Linked DNA regions of Homo sapiens: region 2 is linked to region 1. The links are contacts of gene promoters, found by promoter capture Hi-C in human tissues and cell types (Jung and others, 2019). All regions are on one chromosome and are shown on one strand. The core of a region is centred on a gene start or on the middle of the fragment in contact, and the rest is flanking DNA. Distances in the headings are between cores, read along the strand shown.

Region 1 (5,130 bases), core at 180-2,679:
ATCCAGCCCCTGGGCTATGTAAGCCAGACTCTGGTCTCCCACCTTGTCACAGAACGAAACATCCAGCCCCGAGAGGCGCAGGCTGCCCATGGCCAGATGCATGATGCCCGTGTCACTGATGTTGTCACAGGAGCGCAGGTTGAGGCTGCGCAGGCTGCCCATGTGCGACAGGTGCAGGAGGCCAGCGTCCGAGATTCCCCCACAGAAGCTGAGGTTGAGGAGCCTCAGGCCCGTCAGCCCTCGGGAGATGTGCTTTAGAGAAAGATCTGTGAGCTTCTGGCAGTCCTGTAGCGTGAGCTGCTCCAGGCCCAGGCAGCCCTCCGCCGCGCTGCGCGTCATGCCGGCCAGGTGCCCGATGCCCACATCCGAAAGGTGGCGGCAGCTGCGGAGGTTAAGGCTCTTGAGGCGCTGCAGACCCCAGGCGATGAGCAGAAGGCCAGTGTTGGTGATGTTGCTGCAACCTCCCAGCTCCAGCACCTCCAGGCCCTTGAGGTACTGGGCTATGCGGCCCAGGCTGCTGTCAGTGATCTGCTTGCAGAGGCTCAGGTTGAGAGCGCGCAGGGAGCCGATCTCCTGCACAAACGCGTGGCCCAGCCCGTTGTCGGTGAGGTTGTAGCAGCCGCTGAGGTTGAGGCTCTCGATGTTGGCCATGCCCTGGATCACGTAGCTGAGGCTGCGGCGGAGGCTCAGGATCTGCACCCGGCGGATGCCCCGGGCCTGCAGGCTGGGGAACAGCGACGGGTTGGCCCGGCGCAGGTGCAGCTTGGCCTCCACCCCCCGCCACACCGACTTGTGGTAGGCGGCGTCCCGCCAGGCGGTGCACACCTGCGCCGCGCGCCCCTTGTCCCGGACGTCCAGGTAGCCGAAGATCATGGCCAGCAGCTCCGGGAACAGGCATGAGATGTGGGTCTCCATCTTCCTCCTCCCCCCTCCGCGGCGCTGGGGGGAGGAGGCGCGGGCCCCGCCGCTCCGGCCTCGGGCAGGCGACGAGAGCGCTTCTCCCCAGCCGCCGCCGCCGCCGCCGCCGCCGCCTCGGGCCCAACGGCCGGCCCCTCCCCGCCTTCCGGCTCCGGCCGCCGCCGCCGCTCCTCCTCCTGGTCCGTCCGTCCTTCCTTCCTGCCGGCTGCGCCTCCGGCCCGGCCCTCCCCCGCCCCGGGCTCCGCACGGCGCTCACATCCCGGGCGGGGAAGGCGCCTCGCTCTCGCTCCCGGAGGCCGGCCGCCGCCGCCGCCTCGGCTCTACCCACGCCGCGCCCGGGCCGCGCCGCTCCGCCCGCGCCGCCGCGCCCACGCCCCCTGCCGCATCCTCCGCCTCCTGCCGCCGCCGCTGCTCCGCGGGCCGGCGGGCGGCGAGGGGGCCCCGGGGGCCGGGCGCACGGGCTCCGGGCGCGGAGGAGGCTTCCTGCTGCCTTTGTCTCTCGCCCGCTTTTCAAACCTCCCAGCCCCGGGCCGCCCGCACTCCGCCGCCCAGGCGGGGGGACCAGGAGGCCAATCCCGGCCGGCGGCGTGCGTTCCTTCTCCCCCGCCGTCCGCGGCCACTTGGGAGCTGCCGGCCCCCGCACCAAGGACGCCGCGGCCGTCCGGCCGGAGCGCGGCTCGGCGCAGACCCCGGGCGAGCAGGCGGGCCGTGCGTTTGGTAGCGCCCGGGCCGGCCCCGGCTCCGCCGCCCTGCAGCGCGTCCCCTCCGCCGCTCCCGCTCCCCCGCGCCCGCGCAATGGTACGGGCCTGCGCTGCCGGAACTGTGGAGCCGTTGCCCTGGAAACCGAGTTCGGCCTGGTCCCGTGGCCCCTGATTTTTAACCCTGTGGGCGCCACGGGGGAGCGGCAGCTGTCAGCAGAGCGCCTCCCCACCCGGCTTCTTTTCACCCGGTAGCCCGTTATTGAGCCGTTCCCTCTCTGGGCCACGCCCCAGCCCCGTTCCTTCTTTTTCTTTGCTGTTGAAGTCTGCGCAGCCCCTTCCCACAGTTTACCCCTGCAATTCGTTACCCTTATTTCACACCCCTCTCCCTTGATTATCCCTGCGAGAGCCGCCTCCTATAGCAGTGCTCAATAATCGTCACCCCAACTCTCCTTTTCTTACTGTCCCTAATGCCCCTTAACGCCTCATTATCACACCCCCTGCTCCCCCGGTTGGGGCTGTTTACTACGACGCCTTTCTCTCCAGTCTTGTGTCTTAAATTGGAGAGAAACTCGGCTGTACTCATCTTAAACAATGACCCCCTCCAGTCGGTGTTCTAGAAATTTCTAGAATTATCCATGACTACTTCCTTCTAGCATCTTCTGATGGTTTCCAGACACGCTGTGTGTGTTTCCCTCGGTACTTGATACATCAAAACTTCCCTCTACTTCTGAACGCTGCTGCGCCACCAATGCCCTCAGTCCGCTTTGCTTACAGGGGAACAGCCTTCCCCTAAGCCTTGTTTTAGGAGCTTTCTCCTTGTCATCAGCCTTAGACTATCAGTTGTATGGCTCAGTTGTACTGATAGTCAATATATTCGTATATGCTGAATCCAATTTACTTTTTGATTAAAATGGAATGACAGTTGAACTTGGTTTAAGACAATCCAGTCGTGTCTGTTGGTTTATCAACCGTTTTATGGAAGCAGGGCACAATTCCATTCTAGGATGTAGCCCCTGGGTCCTAAATGTCCGTACTAAGGATAGAATTTCAGAAGTTTCATTTTAACTACCCCCAAACCAAGAATTTTTGGATCAGAGAAAATGATCCTCTGTATTTTAATTTATGGATCCACACAACTAGATACAAGACCAGCGGATTTATCAGAAAGGGAAAATGGTTTCATTGATTCTTTGAGGACCTGAACAAGATTTGGAAGGGGTTCCATATTCAGTGTAGGAGAGTAACTTTTGCCCAAGCAACCACTATTAGACCAAATACATACAGATTCAGTAATAGGCATAATACACCTTTTACACCCCTACCACTCCTCTTTCCTAAATCAGGAAATGCAGAAGCAAAAATTCTCGCCAGCTTGTTACCTCACCCACATTACACGCAGTGTGGAGCCCATAGATTTTTATAACCTTCTTGAAAAAATAGACTGTACTGTTAGTCATCCAGTACATCCAGATGTACGGTGGCAGTAAGTGTCACGATTCTGGGGTATGCCTGGGCTTCACTCTTCTCCTGGAGGTTATCTAGGCTTTTATTCTTCTCAGTCACTTCTGCCTAAACGTTTACCTTAAATTCTGCGCAAAAGTCACTTTTTGATTGTTCTGTGCACCTAGATGTGTTTGGGTTGATGTCAAGGCCTTAATCCAAAGCACCTTAGTGTAACTTAATCCTGCTTAATAAAAAACAAAGTACCCCACACATTTGGGGGGAATTTTAGACAAGGGGCCTGACCAGCCTCGGACTAAGAAGGAGCCTAATGGTTTTCCTTCTCTAGAAAGGCCCTTGTTCTCAAATCTGAAGAGTCATTCAGAGGTATCTGGAAGCACTTTCTCTAGAAGTTGGCCATCTGGTCCTCGTTCTAACAACAGTTTTTCTTGAATTCTAGAATCTTATTAACACAAAGCCTTTTATTTAAGGCACTCAAGTATATATTATAAGGATTTTCAGCAATATGACTATTTTCACCTTCAATAAATAGGAAAATATAGCATCAAGAAGCATCACAGAAAAAGCATTCCCGGGGAAAAGGAACTAGGGCGTAGAATGAGCCCTATGCCGAATCTGAACACCTGGTGACTTTATGCTACTGAGGAAACGACTCTCCTTTCTGGGTCTCGGTTTCCTTGTGTAACACCAGGATGATTTGACTAGGTAATCTTCAGGGACCTTTCCAGTAGGAACACTCTGAGGCCAAGAGCCTAGCATACTGTCTCCTTAACCCATGGAACAATTACACATTGTTCCTAATGCAGGCTCCAGATATTAAGAATAACTTCGAATACAATAACTTCCTGGGAGCTTTGGTTTATGCTCAGACTTAGGACACAAAAATATATGAAGAATATGTATAGACAGGAGACTCTGATTGTCTGGCAAAGATGTATACCAATGTAGAAAATCCTGTGGCTTGCTCTTCATATTTTTAAAACTGGTTGAGATTTTTGTATATGATTTAACAAGTTGCAACCATAAGTTTTTTAACTAGCCTATTTAAAAGCAGAAATGATAGCCTTGTGTAGGGAGTCTCTCCAAAGCCTTACAAAGAATTTTTTTTTTAATTCTAGATTTTTCAGATGGAATGTGCTTTTCACCTGGGTAGGGTGGGAAAATTGAGAGGCCCAACCCAAAGATCAGGCTTACCTAAGGATTCATACTTTCTCCTTCAGAAGGGGAAGACCTGGCAGGAAAGATCAGAAGAGCTCTGTAGCTTTTAACTCCTCATTCAAGTATATATATATATATATATATATATATATATATATATATATATATATATATCTCCAAAAATAGTGGCCCAGAGTCTAGTTTATGGGTTGGGTCAGAGGAGTTAACATAGGCCGGGCAAAGTGGCTCATGCCTCTAATCCCAGCATTTTGGGAGGCCGAGGCGGGATGATCACTTGAGGCCAGGAGTTCGAGACCAGCCTGGCCAACATGGTGAAACCCCGTCTCTACTAAAAAAAATACGAAAATATTAGCCGGGCATGGCAGCACATGCCTGTAATCCCAGCTACTCGGGAGGCTGAGGCATGAGAATCGCATGAACCCAGGAGACAGAGGTTGCAGTGAGCTGGTACTGTGCCACTACACTCCAGCCTGGGCGACAGAGCAAGAGACCTTGTCAAAAAAAAAAAAAAGTTAAAATATTTTGTGTCTATTTTCCTTGAACTCTAGTGTATCTATGGCACAATGCCTGCTATGTAGTAGACATTTTGTCAGTGTTGTTGAACTGAAGTGAATGAGATGGATAATATAAATAATAATCTCTTTATGAAAGACTTCATACATATCGAAACTTCTTCGAGAGTTCTGGGCAGCCATTAGTAATCTGAGGTTTATAATAAAATGCTGCCTTTCCAACTTCAAGGTTTCTTGAGAGTAACATTCATTCTGTTGCTCAGTATTTCTAAGTAGGAGAGCATCTCTCTCGACACTTCTTCGTGACAGAATATTAAAGATAAGAGAGGGTGAGGATTTGATTCACTGATTGCAAATAA
Region 2 (4,803 bases), core at 1,978-4,477, 520 kb before region 1:
CCAGCACCAAGGTGGGCGGATAACCTGAGGTCAGGAGTTTGAGACCAGCCTGGCCAGCATGGCAAAACTCCATCTCTACTAAAAATACAAAAATTAGGGGGTGGTGGCGTACACCTGTAATCCCAGCCACTTGGGAGGCTGAGGCACGAGAATGGCTTGAACTCTGAAGGCGGAGGTTGCAGTGAGCCGAGATCACACCACTGCATTCCAGCCTGGGCGACAGAGCGAGACTCTGTCTCAAAACAGAAGGGACTTGGAAATAAAAACAGCTAACAACAAAAACCCGTAACATAGTCATTTATTATCATTATCAAGTATTATGTACTGTATATAATTGTATGTACCACACTTTTATATGACTGTCAACGCATTAGGTTTATTTACACTAACATCATTGCAAACACATGGGTAAGGCATGTGTTACAACATTATGATGGCTATGACCAATGTGATAGGAATTCCCCACCCTCCCACCCGAGACGGAGTCTTGCTGTGTCGCTAGGCTGGAGTGCAGTGGCATGATCTCCACTCACTGCAACCTCCGCCTCCCGGATAAGCGATTCTCCTGCCTTAGCCTCCTGAGTAGCTGGGATTACAGGCACGCACCACTACACCCAGCTAATTTTTGCATTTTTAGTAGAGACGGCTTTCACCATGATGGCCAGGATGGTCTTGATCTCTTGACCTCGTGATCTGCCCGCCTCTGCCTTCCAAAGTGCTGGGATTACAGGTGTGAGCCACCATGCCTGGCCTGTGATAGGAATTTTTTAGCTCCATTGTAATGTTATGGGACCACCATGATACATGCAGTCTCTTGTTGACTGAAACGTCATGTGGTGTATATAGAATGCATTTATGACAGTAGGACTTACCCATTTTGATAGTGTTTTCATTTATTCCTTTTTCTTTTTTTTCCGAGACAGAGCTTTGCTCTGTCACCCAGGCTGGAGTGCAGTGGCGTGATCTTGGCATCCTCCAACTCCTGGGTGCAAGCGATTTTCCTGCCTCAGCCTCCCGAATAGCTGGGATTATAGGATGCCACCATGTCCAGCTAAGGTTCGTAGTTTTAGAGATGGGGTTTCACCATGTTGGTCAAACTGGTCTCAAACTCCCCCACCCCAAGTGATCTACCCACTTTGGCCTCCCAGAGTGCTGGGATTACAGGCATGAGCCACTGCACCCGACCACATTTTCATTTATTCTTTAACTTCTATTCTGGGTTGTGGTAGCATAAAGATGGATTATGTTTATTGCTGAAATAAACCTGTTGTCCAAATTTTGATGTTTTCCAGCCATTATCTTGCTACTTAGATTTATGTACAGCATTCGCAGAGCAAAAAGATAGATGATCTTATTTTTCCTGGATTCAGAGGCAGAGAGTAGTTGTTAGAATTCTAGTGTAATTGCTCATTCATTTTCTTGACTCTGACATCTTTTTTTAGAGGAAAATAACTTTGGTTAGTAAGCTCCAAATAATGGGTGAGAATGTTAAACAATTTAATCCATCCCTTTGAGTTCTAGTGCGGGTCTTTTTTGCATTTTGGTGAGTCTCCTGCTTGTGTTTAGATTAGTCTGAAAACTTTGATTTGGTTTAATATTTGAGGGCTTTCAGTGTGCTTTGCTGTACAGGAAATAAATCTCTGTCATTAACTCAAAGAATACTAAACTAACAATAAGGAGGAGTAAATTACCTTGGAGGCTCTTCCCCTGTCTCATTCTCTGTGGTTCAGACTCATTAAATTAGTTTCTTCTTTTAAAATGTTTCTTCTTTTAAAATTATGGAAATTAGAATTCAGTTGACGTTTGTACAAAGTGGGGTTATATCTGTGTATAAGTTTTGACACCCCCCAAATTTAACTATTAATAGCCTACTGTTGACCAGGGGCCTGATAACATAGTTGATTAACACATATTTTGTATGTTATATGTTAACATGTATTTTATGTATATACTGCATTCTTTAAAGCAAGCTAGAGAAAAGAAAATGTTATTAAGAAAATTGTCTGGGTGTGGTGCCTCATGCCTGTAATCCCAGCTCTTTGGGAGGCCGAGGCTGGTGGATCACACGGTTAAGAGATCAAGACCATCCCGGCCAATATGGTGAAACCCCGTCTCTACTAAAAATACAAACATTAGCCAGGCGTGGTGGTGCTCACCTGTAATCCCTGCTACTCTGGAGGCAGAGGCAGGAGAATCGTTTGAACCTGGGAGGCGGAGGTTGCAGTGAGCTGAGATTGTGCCATTGCACTCCAGCCTGGGCAACAAAAGTGCACTCCATTGCACTCCATCTCTTGGAAACAGAGCAAGACTGTCTCGGGGGAAAAGAAAAAAAAAGAAAATCACAAGGAAGAGAAAATACACTTACTATTCATTAAGTAGAAGTGGACCATCACGAAGATCTTCATCCTCATCATTTTTGTTTTGAGTAGGCTGAGGAAGAGGAAGAAGAAAAGGGATTGGTATTGCTGTCTCAGATTTGGCAGAGGCAGAAGAAAATCCATGTGTCAGCAGACCCTCAAAGTTCAAACCTGTGTGGTACAAGGGTCAACTGTACTTTGTTTTCATAGAGATATATTAAAGTTTTATGAGTTTAGCTCATAGTGATCTTATAGGTTCTAAGCTTCATTTGAATATATTGCATGTAAAATAAATGCTTTATCTGTGTTCCTTTTGTCTTTCTTGAATATTGTTGTTAATTTAAAATTTGTAATAGGTTATAACTCTTATGTTTTACCCATTTGTGAGCTTTATTTTTGGATAAGAACTTTATCCTGTACTTTTGCTGTGCTTCGTATAGTACAACTATGAAAGATTCTTGTTGACTGTTGATTATCTGAAAATGCTTCTTTTTGCTTCAGGTCAAATATTGAATAAACCTAGAGCATATAATTAACATTTTTATTAGGACTGTGGTTTGTATTTTGGCCAGTTGGGATTTAAGAATTACTTGTATTGGTTGGTGTAGAACTGATTTTTTTTTTCTTTTTCTTTTTTTTTTTTTTGGAGATGGAGTCTCACTCTGTCGCCCAGGCTGGAGTGCAGTGGCAGGATCTCAGCTCACTGCAACCTCTGCCTCCCCGGTTCTAGCAATTCTCCTGCCTCAGCCCCCTGAGTAGCTGGGTTTACAGGCGCGCACCACCATGCCTGGCTAATTCCTGTATTTTTGGTAGAAACGGGGTTTCACCATGGTGGTCAGGCTGATCTTGAACTCCTGACCTTGTGATCCGCCTGCCTTGGCTTCCCAAAGTGCTGGGATTATAGGCATGAGTGATTTTTTTAGAATAAGAGTAATTGGCTGCATTATTTTTTTAAGGAAGAGGTATAACTTCCCAGATACTTGCAATGCGGCTAATATACAGTAGCCATTTACTTTCAACATAATTTCTCAACATTTAATTTTTGTCAGTTTTTCATAAAAAATTTATGACAGGGTAAAAAGATGACATTCCTAAGTCCTAGAAAGTTTATTGATGATAAATACAAAGAATTAAATTGCAGATCAGTCTTAGAAGTGCTATTCTGTGGATAAGCATACAGCCCTGGGCAGCACAGACGGGAACATCAGATAGCCCAACCAAACCGGAAGCTTGACTTGGTTGACTTAAGAATTCTTTAAAACTCTTTTGCGTGTTACATTAATAAAGTTTATTTAATACATGTATTTATATGTTTCAGAAAAAAATGTTCTTAATTTAACATTTGTAAAAGGGTACAATACTGGTGTTTTCTCTGACTCTGATCTTCTTGATAAACAGTGTACTGAGTTCTCTGTGATATATTTTGTTTGTAATCATGACCATTTCACGTGTCCATAATTTTTTTTCTCTAAAAATATCTCTAGACTACATAGTTCTGTTATTTTAGGAATGAGAATAAACGGGATCAAAGTGTACTCTTGTTCTAAGAAACTAATGACAGTTTATTTGTTGGAAGTTCTGCCTCAGAAGAGCTTCTGATATTTATCTAAAATATATGAATAGTAGTTGTGATCTGTCATTGTTTTTGCAGATATCTAATTGTTGTAATAAAAGTCATAGGCCCTGTCAGATAGTTAAGAATTTTCATTATTGTTGTTCACAATATCCTACCATTTCATTGAGATATAGCTTGGTGTAATAATAGTACAGTCCCTGGAGTAAATTTTAGACAAATACTTTCCCAGCCTTTCAAAATCAAGCTGAGTGTTAGAGTGAGAAGTAGACTAGTGAGTGTTGCTATAAAATTTGGAGTGTGAGATCATTTTGCAGTGTGTCGGGAACAGACTTCCCAAATAGACATTCTAGTATTATCTTACAACTCGATCTTTCCTTAAACTCAATGTATCTGTTTTTGGTTGATCATTATAGATGTCTGTGATGTGTGAATATGCCCATTTTATCTTCTGTATGAATATGCTGGAGAAAGAGTAGCCTTGCTTGTAGTCTGCTTTTTTCCTTCTTCTAAAGGAGTTGGCAGGAATTTTTATAAAATAAAGCTAGCCTGATTGTAGCCAAAAGAGGAAATGTTGGTTTATATTTTAGTGGAGAAAACTGCTGTATAGACTTCTAGGCTACCAAGTCAGAGCATTGTTTTATTTTTATACTATAGTAAAATGGGTGCAGGCGGAGCTGAAGAACCAGACACACTAGTAGTTAATGTTTTCTTTCTTTACCAAAATAGTAATTGCCATGCTACATTTAGCCATATGTGCCAAAGCGTATGTGAAACTGTTAACTGTAGCCAACATATATTTCTCCTGACTTGAATGAATTGATGACGAATGGTCAGAAAAGGAGGAACAGTCATACCTAGAAATCAGCTTCC

The links. Contacts are between HindIII fragments. The study calls those that stand out against the background at their distance.
Region 2: a contact is called between a fragment that was not itself captured here and the fragment with the promoter of FBXL14 in region 1, in 1 of the 25 tissues and cell types used here (dorsolateral prefrontal cortex).

The regions. Positions count from the first base shown.
Region 1 is chr12:1,593,152-1,598,281 of GRCh38, forward strand. It overlaps FBXL14 (F-box and leucine rich repeat protein 14), which reads right to left and starts at 1,430. Exons shown (of 2, transcript NM_152441.3): 1 at 1-1,430. The coding sequence starts at 915. RefSeq lists enhancers at 505-694, 2,065-2,134 and a silencer at 935-1,804. The HindIII fragment of the contact is 15,118 bases long and covers 1-5,130 here.
Region 2 is chr12:1,073,410-1,078,212 of GRCh38, forward strand. The region is part of intron 2 of ERC1 (ELKS/RAB6-interacting/CAST family member 1); the gene reads left to right. Among named protein-coding and RNA genes, the nearest start is that of ERC1, 85 kb to the left of the region's middle. The HindIII fragment of the contact is 5,096 bases long and covers 680-4,803 here.